Regions from separate parts of the Homo sapiens genome. Here regions 2 and 3 are each linked to region 1. Evidence: promoter capture Hi-C in human tissues and cell types (Jung and others, 2019). All regions are on one chromosome and are shown on one strand. Each heading gives the region's core, a stretch centred on a gene start or on the middle of the fragment in contact. The rest is flanking DNA. Distances are from core to core; before and after follow the strand shown. Region 1 overlaps CLSTN1 (calsyntenin 1). Region 2 holds the start of H6PD (hexose-6-phosphate dehydrogenase/glucose 1-dehydrogenase). Region 3 holds the start of PGD (phosphogluconate dehydrogenase).

Region 1 (3,411 bases), core at 251-2,750:
ATCTCTTGACCTCATGATCCACCCACCTTGGCCTCCCAAAGTGCTGGGATTACAGGCATGAGCCACCGCGCCAGGCCTTGGTTGTTTTTTAATGCACGAACATGACATTGCATAAATAATTTCCACCAATCTTGAATCTGTAGTCCTGAAACACTACTAAAATCCGTATTTTGTAGCAAATCAACATTTTAAATTTCACTTATAAAGACATATTTCTTCAAGCAACTCTTTTTTTTTTTTTTTTTTTTTTTTTTTGAGACGGAGTCTCACTCTGTCGCCCAGGCTGGAGTGCAGTGGCGCGATCTCGGCTCACTGCAAGCTCCACCTCCCGGGTTCACGCCATTCTCCTGCCTCAGCCTCCCGAATAGCTGGGACTACAGGCACCTGCCACCACGCCTGGCTAATTTTTTGTATTTTTTTTTAGTAGAGACAGATGGGGTTTCACCGTGTTAGCCAGGATGGTCTTGATCTCCTGACCTCGTGATCCACCCACATTGGCCTCCCAAAATGCTGGGATTACAGGTGTGAGCCACCGCACCCGGCCCCTTCAAGCAAGTCTTCACACCAAATTAAGACCCACTAAAAAAACAAGTTTTAATGATCTAAGCCCTCAACCAGAATACATAAGAAATAGACTCTTGGCGGTTTTTTAGGATAATCAGATCTCTATTTTGTTTCAACTCTTATAAATGAAAACTACCCAAAAAAATTAAAAAACATACTTTCCTGTCTCAGAAAGCAATAATAAAAATAACTCAGTACTTTTTTTCCTTTGTTCTAAAATTTTAACCTATCTCAGCTTCCTCATTTTAAACATTTAGACTTGGTTTAATAAGCTTCACTAAGTCCTGCAGCTAGTGTTACGAAATTACAGCATTTTCTATTTTCAATGTAATATTTTATATCCCACAAAAATTTCATTTTTTGGTCATATTCTTCATAACTAAAACTGAAATATTATTTGCGTTTTTGGCTTGAATATCAAATACTGGCACAGATAATGTATGTTATGACCTCCTAAACCTTCCTTTTGAAAAATAATTCCTATAAAACTGCTTGGTTTCATGCTTTTTCTCCCAAAAGAAATATCCAGCCAAAGGACGAATTCCAGCTAACTGAAGGTTCCAGTTAACCGAGTGAATGCTCTAAAATTGGAATATATTCAAAATTGTTCGTATTTTATTATTTCTTCAGCAGTTATAGGTCTCCTTTGAGAAATAAATGTTATTTACTTTCAGTATTAAAAATGTTAGACTATGGGTAATACTGAGGTCTATATTCGAACGACTTTTTTCCACATCGTTACTTCTGAAAAAACGAGGTAACAAATTAAGAAACCATCTTCCCAAAAAAGCTGAAAATTATAGTATTTTTAAAGGGACTAACAGGGGTAGCCACAGAGCTACAGCCTTCAAAGGCTGAGACAGAGTTTCATGATCTAATATCCCCAATACTGCAACCAACAGAATTGATCCTTGAACTTTTTTTTTTTTTTTGGTATTTTTGTAGTGACAAGGTTTCACCATGTTGCCCAGGCTAGTCTCAAACTCCTGGGCTCAAACAATCTGCCTGCCTAGTTCTCCCAAAGTGCTGGAATTACAGGGGTGAGCCACCGAGGCTGGCCCCATGATCCTTGAAAATTTACCCACTAATGAATTCCCATATCGACACTGCAGAATTTAAGTTTGGGCCGGGTGCAGTGGCTCACACCTGTAATCTCAGCACTGTGGGAGGCAGAGGCAGGCGGATCACTTGAGGTCAGAAGTTCAGACCAGCCTGGCCAACATGGTGAAACCCTGTCTCTACTAAAAATACAAAAATGAGCCCAGTGTGATGGCATATGCCTGTAGTCCCAGCTACTGGTGAGGCTGAGGCAGAAGAATCTCTTGAACCCGGGAGGCGGAGGTTGCAGTGAGACAAGATCGCGCCATTGCACTCCAGCCTGGGTGACAGAATGAGACTCTGTCACAAAAACAAAAACAAACAAAAAAAAAACTTAAGTTTGCTTTACACTATGTAATTTTTTTCAGTATATAGCATTTATCTGTAAAGTGAAAATTAGGATGCAAAGCTACTACGCTGTCTAAACTGAAATGCTGTTATCCATCCACCCATTCATTCATTCAATCACACAATACTGGCATGCCTCTGGTGTGCTGGTGACGGGAAACATATGCAAAGCAGATACCCTTCCATCTTGGGGCATATGTTCTACTGAGGGGAAACAGACGATAAACAATTCAATAAGTAAACAACAAGGCATGTTAGAATGGGCTAAGTGCTATGCAAAAAGAAAAAGTGTTGCAGGGAAACAGGATTTAGGGGTTCAGGAAGAGAAATTATTTCAAATAGGATGGTGAGGGGAGGTCTCACTAAGCCTATGTGCAAATGGAAAAGTAACAGTGAATTTTATGTATTAAGTGGCTTCGAAATGCATTACATGGTTGCATTTTTTAAATATTCATATAAGCTTTCTATTTTCTCTGCTTCACTGTTCTATTTCCCGATCTCCATGAAGAAGGCAGGTAGCTGAAGGACATGACCGTCCAGGGCATGCCAAAGATATTTCTTCTAATATTTTGGCTTACTGAATTTGTTTTTAAGATGGAGTCTTGCTTTGTCACCCAGGCTGGAGTGCAGTGGCGCAATCTCGGCTCACTGCAACCTCCGCCTCCTGGGTTCAAGCAATTCTCCTGCCTCAGCCTCCCAAGTAGCTGGAGTTACAGGCGTCCACCAGTACACCCAGCTAATTTTTATATAGTTAGCAGAGATGGGGTTTCACCATGTTGGCCAGGCTGGTCTCGAACTCCTGACCTCAGGTGATCCGCTGGCCTCGGCCTCCCAAAGTGCTGGGATTACAGGCGCAAGCCACTGCACCCAGCTCTACTCAATGTTTTTTGAGAACTACAGCTATAATTAAAATAAAATTTGAGGGTCTCTACAAAACTAAGAGTCAAGATGCAATTTATATTAGAAAATCTATCATTTTCTGCAGCAGTCTGTACGTAATCTAACATTAACAATGATTAAAGGTAGCTACAGCATGAACAGGAGTTCATGTCGTACTGCCTTACAGCCGTAAAAAATTCAATTAGTTGAAATGATCTCTTAAAACGAGCCCACAGAGTGTCTCCAAACTGTAAATTTACATATGAAATTCACTTGTAATATTTCAAAATGAAATTGTTTATTAGCATTTCGTGTAATTCCAAGACATTTTCTAACTTGCAACCTGAAAAAAATGCATACGAATAACTGATGTGTAAAATGTCTTTATTCCGAAGACTAAGAATCTTGAACTACTGTAACTGCACCAAGAAAAACTTAGAGAAAGCAAATTACAAATGACTCAACTAGCCAACACACCTTTCACACAAGATTTCTGTCGGTCTCAGGTAATGAAGATATTCA
Region 2 (3,411 bases), core at 336-2,835, 590 kb before region 1:
CCTGCCCACTTCTATCTGTGCCTTCCTGGGCCCTGGTTTTCAGAGCTATGTGGGTGCCTGACACACTCAGGGCCACAGAACATGGGAAGGGCTCTAGGCCAAGAGTCCCGGCATCATTCGAGTCTGCTCTGGCCCGCTCCTGCCCTAAGCCCTCCTGCTCACTTCCAGCTGTGGAGGTAGCCCAGAGAGTGCCTGGCTCCCTGGCTCCCCCCTCTGCCAGGCCCACTCAGTGTGACCTAAATCCTTGCCGAGGCTTGGCAGCCCTCTGCGGGCGCCCGGATGGCCTCTGGCCTTGGTGACGGTGAGGCCCAGCTCCCCTCAGTTCCCAGCCTTCCCGGAACCCCTTGCCTAACATCCTGTGTGGTAATCATGCCTGTTGGCCCCATTCAGTCCTGCCGGCCACTGCCAAGTTGCCACTGCTAGTTCCAGACGCTCCCACCTCTAATGGAACCATCGGGAAATAAAAAGCTGCAGCACAGTTTCTCTCTCAGGTCAGAATCTCCTCCCAGCACTTTGGGAGGCCAACGTGGGAGAATCACTTGGGCCCAGGAGTTCGAGACCAGCCTGGGCAACAAAGTGAGACCCCGTCTCTACAAAAAGTTGAAAAATTAGTCAGGAGTGGTGGCGAACATCTGTGATCCCAGTTACTTGGGAGGCTGAGGCGGGAGGATCACTTGAGCCTGGGAGGCGGAGGCTGCAGTGAGCTGTGATAGCGCCACTGCACTCCAGCATGGGTGACAGAGCGAGACCCTGTCTCAAAAAAAAAAAAAAAAAAAAAAAAGAAAAAAAGAAAAGAAAAGAAAGAAAAAAGAAAAAGTGGGGAGCAGGTTGGGGAGCATGGTGAGGGCCACCTACTGCCTGATAATGGTGGGGGACAGGAAGGGGACTGAGTGCTCTGAGAGGCAGCTGATCCCGTTTTCTCACTTAAATACCTCTCACCCTACAGAGAAGCCCTGATTCCATTTGCTGTCTTTCTTAGCAATGTCTTAGCAAAAGTCTTCTATTTGCCACACGGGTCCAAGCTTCCGCTTACTAAGCACCCAAGTGCCAGACAACCCCGGAGGCAGGTACTCCCATTGTCCCCACTGTACAGATGAAGAAACTGAACTCAGGGTCACACAAGTGATAAGGGGTGGCAGAGATCTGAAGCTGTGCGCGGAGGCGTGGCCAGCGTGTGCGCTCCGACTTCTAAATCCCTACTCTGGATATTGAAGACGGGAAAGACCGAGCCGCTCATTCTACAGATGGGGAAAAGCGAGGCCTGAGGAGTCCCAGAGCGGGTGCCAGATCGTAGGGAGCAGCCAGCACCCCGGGTCCCCTCCACGACACAACCACGTCCCTCGGCCACTTCTGGGTCCCGCGCGCGTCTCGGACGCGGCAGGACAGCTCTAGGACGCACGGCCACCAGGGGGCCGAAGGGAAGGGCGGGGGCGGAGGCTCGGAGCTGACCCACCGCCTCGCCCCGGAAGCTCCGAGGCCCCGCCCCGGCGGCCGCCAGCGGAGGGCGTGGCCTCGCCGGCGCCCCCGCCCCGCCCCCGCCCCCGCCGCGCGCGCCCCCGCCGCGCGCGCCCCCGGCCCGGGCCCCAGTCTTGCTGAGCGCAAGGCGGTGGAGGCCTGAGGCCTGAGGCCTGGGGCGGGGTGGCGGCCGGGCTGGCCTTGGCCTCGCGCCTTCCCCTGCGGCCGCCGCGGGCTCCGCGGGCGGTATCGGAGTGTCGTGCGGCGCGTGGCCGCGTGACACGCGCACTTGTCGGAGTGACGGGCCCTGCGGAAGAGGAGGTGCGGCCCAGGGCGCAGGGGAGCCCTCGGGAGCGGGCCCGGCCCTCAGCGCCGCCCCGGCCGTGTCCCGGAGGAGCGGCCTGCGCCGCCGCGCGAGAGGAAGTAAGCGCCCCCCGCCGGCCCCGCCGCCGCCCCGGCCCCGGCGCCTCCAACCCGCGCTGCCGCCGGGCCCGAGGCCGCGCCGAGCCCCGGAGCCTGCGCTGCCAGCCCCACGGAGCCTGGGGCTGGCGGCTTTGGAACTGCTCAGGAGGCGGCCAGGCTCCCTCCAGGGTCGCCCCGAGCGGCCGAGCTGTCCTTTCCCTGGGCTTCCCGGAACTGAGTTCCAGGAGAGGGGGAACTCCGAGATTTCCCCCGGGACCTGCTTAATCTTTGGCATTGATTGGCCCTCGGGTTTCACATAGCGTTTCCCGTACCCGGATCTAGTGAACGGTTTTCCAGGGGCAAACCTCTCTGGATCTCTGAAAATCAGCTCACCCAACCTTGAATGCTTAGCCAGAAGTGAGAACTTCTGGAAAGAAGTGTCCTTGCCCACTCCCCCTGCACCCACAACAGGCCCATGGCTCATGAAAGGCAGCAGATGAGGGAAAACTGGTGTCAAATGGGCATATTTTTTATTTTATCTTTTTACTTTTTTATATAAAAGTAAAAAATCTTTTACTTATAAAAGATGGGGTCTTGCTTGGTTGCCCAGGCTGGAGTACAGTGGCACAAACACGGTTCCCTGCAGCCTCCACCTCTTGGGCTCAGGCCATCGTCCTGCCTCAGCCTCCGGGGTAGCTGGGACCACAGGCGCACACCACCACGCCTGGCTAATTTTTAAACCTTTTGTAGAGACAGTGGTCTCACTATGTTGCCCTGGCTGGTCTCGAACTCCTGGGCTCAAGCGATCCTCCTGCTTAAGCCTTACGAAGTGTTGGGATTACAGGTGTGAAGCACCACGCCCAGACAGCGTATTTTAAATTATGCATCATATCCCTTTAATTTTTCATCATTATGATTGGAAGATCATGAAAAGCTGTCTGAGTTTTTCCTTGGCATTTTTCTGTGGTTGATGGTTAGTTGTTGCCCAAGCTGGAGTGCAATGGCGCGATCTCGGCCCACTGCAACCTTCTCCTCCTGGTTCAAGCGATTCTTCCACCTCAGCCTCCTGAGTGGCTGGGATTACAGGCGCGTGCCACCACACCCGGCTAATTTTATGTATTTTTTAGTAGAAACAGGGTTTCACTATGTTATCCAGGCTTGTCTTGAACTGCTGACCTCAGGTGATCCACCACCTCGGCCTCCCAAAGTGCTGGGATTACAGGCATGAACCACCGCGCCCAGCTGGTTAGTTGGTTTTAACAGCAGTTCAAGAAGCTAGCAAGAAGGACTTCATTCGTGAAGCTAATGGTTTAATGATAGAAACTAACATTTCTGGCCGGGCCCAGTGGCTCACGCCTGTAATCCCAACACTTTCGGAGGCCAGGGCGGGCAGGTCACTTGAAGAGTTCAAGACCAGCCTTGCCAACATGGTGAAACCCCGTCTCTACTAAAAATACAAAAATTTGCTGGGCATGGGGGCAGCGGATGCCTGTAATCCCAGCTGCTGGGGAGGCTAAGGCAGGAAAATCGCTTGAACCGCCCTGCCTCCGGTGA
Region 3 (3,411 bases), core at 498-2,997, 580 kb after region 1:
ATTATGGTGATGGCTACACAACAGTATAAATTAAAGGTCATCCAAATGTGTACTTACAATGTTTGAATTGTATGACATGTAAATTATCTCATTAAATCTGTATTTTAAAAAAAGAACTGTGCTGTGAAGTTTGACATATTTTAAAGTAGGATGTCTTAGCCGGGCATGGTGTTGCATGCCTGTAGTCCTAGCTACTCAGGAAGTTGAGGCTAGAAGATTGCTCGACCTCAGGAGTTCAAGGCTGCAGTAAGCTATGGTCATGCCACTGCACTCCAGCCTGGGCAACAGAGCAAAGACCTGGTCTTTATAAAAATTAAAAACCGGCCGGGCACAGTGGCTCACACCTCTAATCCCAGAACTTTGGGAGGCTGAGGTGGGTGGATCACTTGAGGTTAGGAGTTCGAGACCAGCCTGGCCAACATGGTGAAACCCTGTCTCTACTAAAAATAAAAACATTAGCTGGGCATGGTGGCACACACCTGTAGTCCCAGCTACTTGGGAGGCTGAGGCAGGAGAATCGCTTGAACCTGGGAGGTGGAGGTTGCAGTGAGCCCAGATCGCGCCACTGCCCTCCAGCCTGGAGACACAGCCAGACTCCATCTCAACAATGACATCAAAAAAAGGCCGGGCACGGTGGCTCACGCCGGTAATCTCAGCACTTTGGGAGGCCAAGGCGGGCGGATCACGAGGTCAGGAGTTTGAGACCAGCCTGGCCAAGATGGTGAAACCCCATCTCTACTAAAAATACAAAAATTAGCTGGGCGTGGTGGCGGGCGCCTGTAATCCCAGCTACTTGGGAGGCTGAGGCAGGAAAATTGCTTGAACCCGGGAGGCGGAAGGTGCAGTGAGCTGAGATCACACCACTGCATTCCAGCCCGGGCGACAGTGCGAGACTCCGTCTCAAAAAAAACAAAAAAAATCTAAAACTCAAACTTCTGAATAACAATTTCCTCCTAGCAAGAAGGGACTCAGTAAGATAAGAAGCGCTGCTTGGCTACTTTGCAAATGTCTGGCTTAAGATGGCTGGTTTTTTGTATCTGCCTCTGCATTTAACCTGGTCCATCTCGCGGGTCACATAGCCTCTACAAAATGAGAAGGGGTTCAATACCGTTAACTCCGGGCCTGGGTAAAAGACTCAAGTCCTGACCCCATCATACTCCAACCAATACATACCCCGCCTGCGCTGTCTGCGCCTGGGTCTCTTCAACCGCAGTGAGCGGTCGCACGGCTCCACATCAGGGTCGCCCTGAGGCTCAGCCTTCCCCGGCCCCATTCCGAGTGCGCACAGGACTGAACGAGCACGCCCGGTCCCTGCTCCGGAGCGGAGGACACGACGCGGACCCGCACGGTGCACCGCAGTGACCTGAGGAAGGAGCGACGGGCGCTCGCGCCAAAGGCGTCCGAGTGCCTGGTAAACTGTAAAGCGCGGTCCTGCGTGAGTTGCTATGGCTACAGCTGCGCCAGGCGGACGGCCTGCAGGACCGAGGTGCAGCTGGGACGAGCGGAAAGCTCTGCGCGTGGGCGGGGAGCCCGGAGCCTCGCCGGGGCAATGTCATCTAGGTGCTCGGCGCTCCACTGATCCGGCCCCCGGGGGTGGGCGGGCACGTTTGCCTCGGATGGTCTAACAGGCGTCGGGGAGAGCCAATGGTGTGGCTTCATGGCTCCACCCCCTTCCATTCGATTGGCCGGCGCCGAAAAGCCGGGCGTGAGCGGCCGCAGTTTCTGGAGGGAGCCGCTGCGGGTCTTTCCCTCACTCGTCCTCCGCGCGTCGCCGCTCTTCGGTTCTGCTCTGTCCGCCGCCATGGCCCAGTGAGTGACTCGCCAGGGGCAGCCCGGCTCGGCCTCAGCGGGCGGGGAACTCTTTGGGGGTCGAGATCTCCCTCGTTCTCTCCGACGCCTCCCACCCTGGGGGTCGCCTGAGCTCACTTGGGGCTCTGTGACCCTGGCCCTACGGCGTCTCGGGCCCAGAGCTCCTTCCCTGCGGGCCCGGCCCCCTGCCCTCTCGGCCGCGCAGGCATGGGGCGGGGCGGGTCCCTTCGAGGGCCAGGGAGGAGGCGCGGCCAGGCCTCGCCGAGTCTGCAGGGACACCTGCGGGACGCGTGCCAGCGGGAGCCGGGCGCGAGGGCGGGGCTGGGGGCCGCCTGCCCGGCCGAGGCTCTGCAGCGTGCGCGCCCGGCTTCTGGGGGCCCGCGGGAGGCGCGGAGGAAAGTGCAGACTCCCAGTCACGGCCAAATGTGGAAGGACCGGACCCCTGGGTTGCAGCGCGTCGAGCGGTGCTGACTCTTTCCTTTGTTCTGTTTCTGCCTCTCTAGAGCTGACATCGCGCTGATCGGATTGGCCGTCATGGGCCAGAACTTAATTCTGAACATGAATGACCACGGCTTTGTGGTAAGCGGCGTGGGCGCGTTGTCTTCTCTCTGGTTCCCGGGCGCTTTAGCCGAGGCCGGCGATAGGTTTGGGAGCTTACGGGTCTCCTGGCCGTGCTTTGCTAATGTGCTCTGTTGCTGCTCGTGGCATTTTTGTATGGAAAGGAGAAGCACCCTGTAGGCGTGGGCGGGCCGATCCCGAACTTAGTCCTGCGGAGTGTGCCTGTGGGTCCGTGAGGTTCACAGCCCGAATGAACGAATTAGTGTCTTAAGTAGAGAAGAAGGGTGCGGGAGGAGAACCCTTGCTGGCTGTGTAGAGCTCTAACTTGATTGCCTGATGAGATCTGGGGAGAGTGAAAATGTTTCTTCTAAATGTTAAAGTGGCTTAGACGCCAGGATGATCAATAACAACAGATAGAGCCTGTTGAACCGGCCAGTTCCTGGATTTGATTTTGAGTCCTAACACGTTGGGTGTGGATTCTACCTGACACACCGGGGGTAGTTGGCCTTCGCCTCGGTTGTCCGCCGTTTTCATCCTACTGAGGTGACATAACTTTACAGTGAGCCTCCCACAGCTGGGGGAAGAAAAGGCAAAGGCAGGTCTGACCTCCCCAGAACTTGGGTTGAATGGAAAGGTCATTGTTACTTTGGCCACAGTCTGAAAGTCTTGTGTGTCCTGGATCTCCTACTCAGGACTTTTGTCCTTCTAGGTCTGTGCTTTTAATAGGACTGTCTCCAAAGTTGATGATTTCTTGGCCAATGAGGCAAAGGGAACCAAAGTGGTGGGTGCCCAGTCCCTGAAAGAGATGGTCTCCAAGCTGAAGAAGCCCCGGCGGATCATCCTCCTGGTGAAGGCTGGGCAAGCTGTGGATGATTTCATCGAGAAATTGGTGAGGCCAGCTGTGCTCTCAGCTGCTACCACGATAGCAGCTGTTTTTGGTTTCTTCCTTTAGTTCTCCTTCTTTTAACTCTAGAGATTTTTTTTTTTCAATTTCTGCTAAGCTCTGACCAAATGATTGCTTAACTGTTGCAGTGTTGGTTAACT

The links. Contacts are between HindIII fragments. The study calls those that stand out against the background at their distance.
Region 2: the fragment with the promoter of H6PD here is called in contact with a fragment that was not itself captured in region 1 in 1 of the 25 tissues and cell types used here (dorsolateral prefrontal cortex).
Region 3: the fragment with the promoter of PGD here is called in contact with a fragment that was not itself captured in region 1 in 1 of the 25 tissues and cell types used here (dorsolateral prefrontal cortex).

Annotation. Positions count from the first base shown.
Region 1 is chr1:9,818,550-9,821,960 of GRCh38, forward strand. The region is part of intron 1 of CLSTN1 (calsyntenin 1); the gene reads right to left. Among named protein-coding and RNA genes, the nearest start is that of CLSTN1, 3.7 kb to the right of the region's middle. The HindIII fragment of the contact is 3,392 bases long and covers 1-3,196 here.
Region 2 is chr1:9,233,189-9,236,599 of GRCh38, forward strand. It overlaps H6PD (hexose-6-phosphate dehydrogenase/glucose 1-dehydrogenase), which reads left to right and starts at 1,586. Exons shown (of 5, transcript NM_004285.4): 1 at 1,586-1,878. RefSeq lists a silencer at 1,439-1,998. The HindIII fragment of the contact is 6,904 bases long and covers 1-3,411 here.
Region 3 is chr1:10,397,317-10,400,727 of GRCh38, forward strand. It overlaps PGD (phosphogluconate dehydrogenase), which reads left to right and starts at 1,748. Exons shown (of 13, transcript NM_002631.4): 1 at 1,748-1,809; 2 at 2,313-2,388; 3 at 3,077-3,256. The coding sequence starts at 1,802. RefSeq lists an enhancer at 1,136-1,445 and silencers at 1,926-2,245, 2,338-2,514. The HindIII fragment of the contact is 25,181 bases long and covers 1-3,411 here.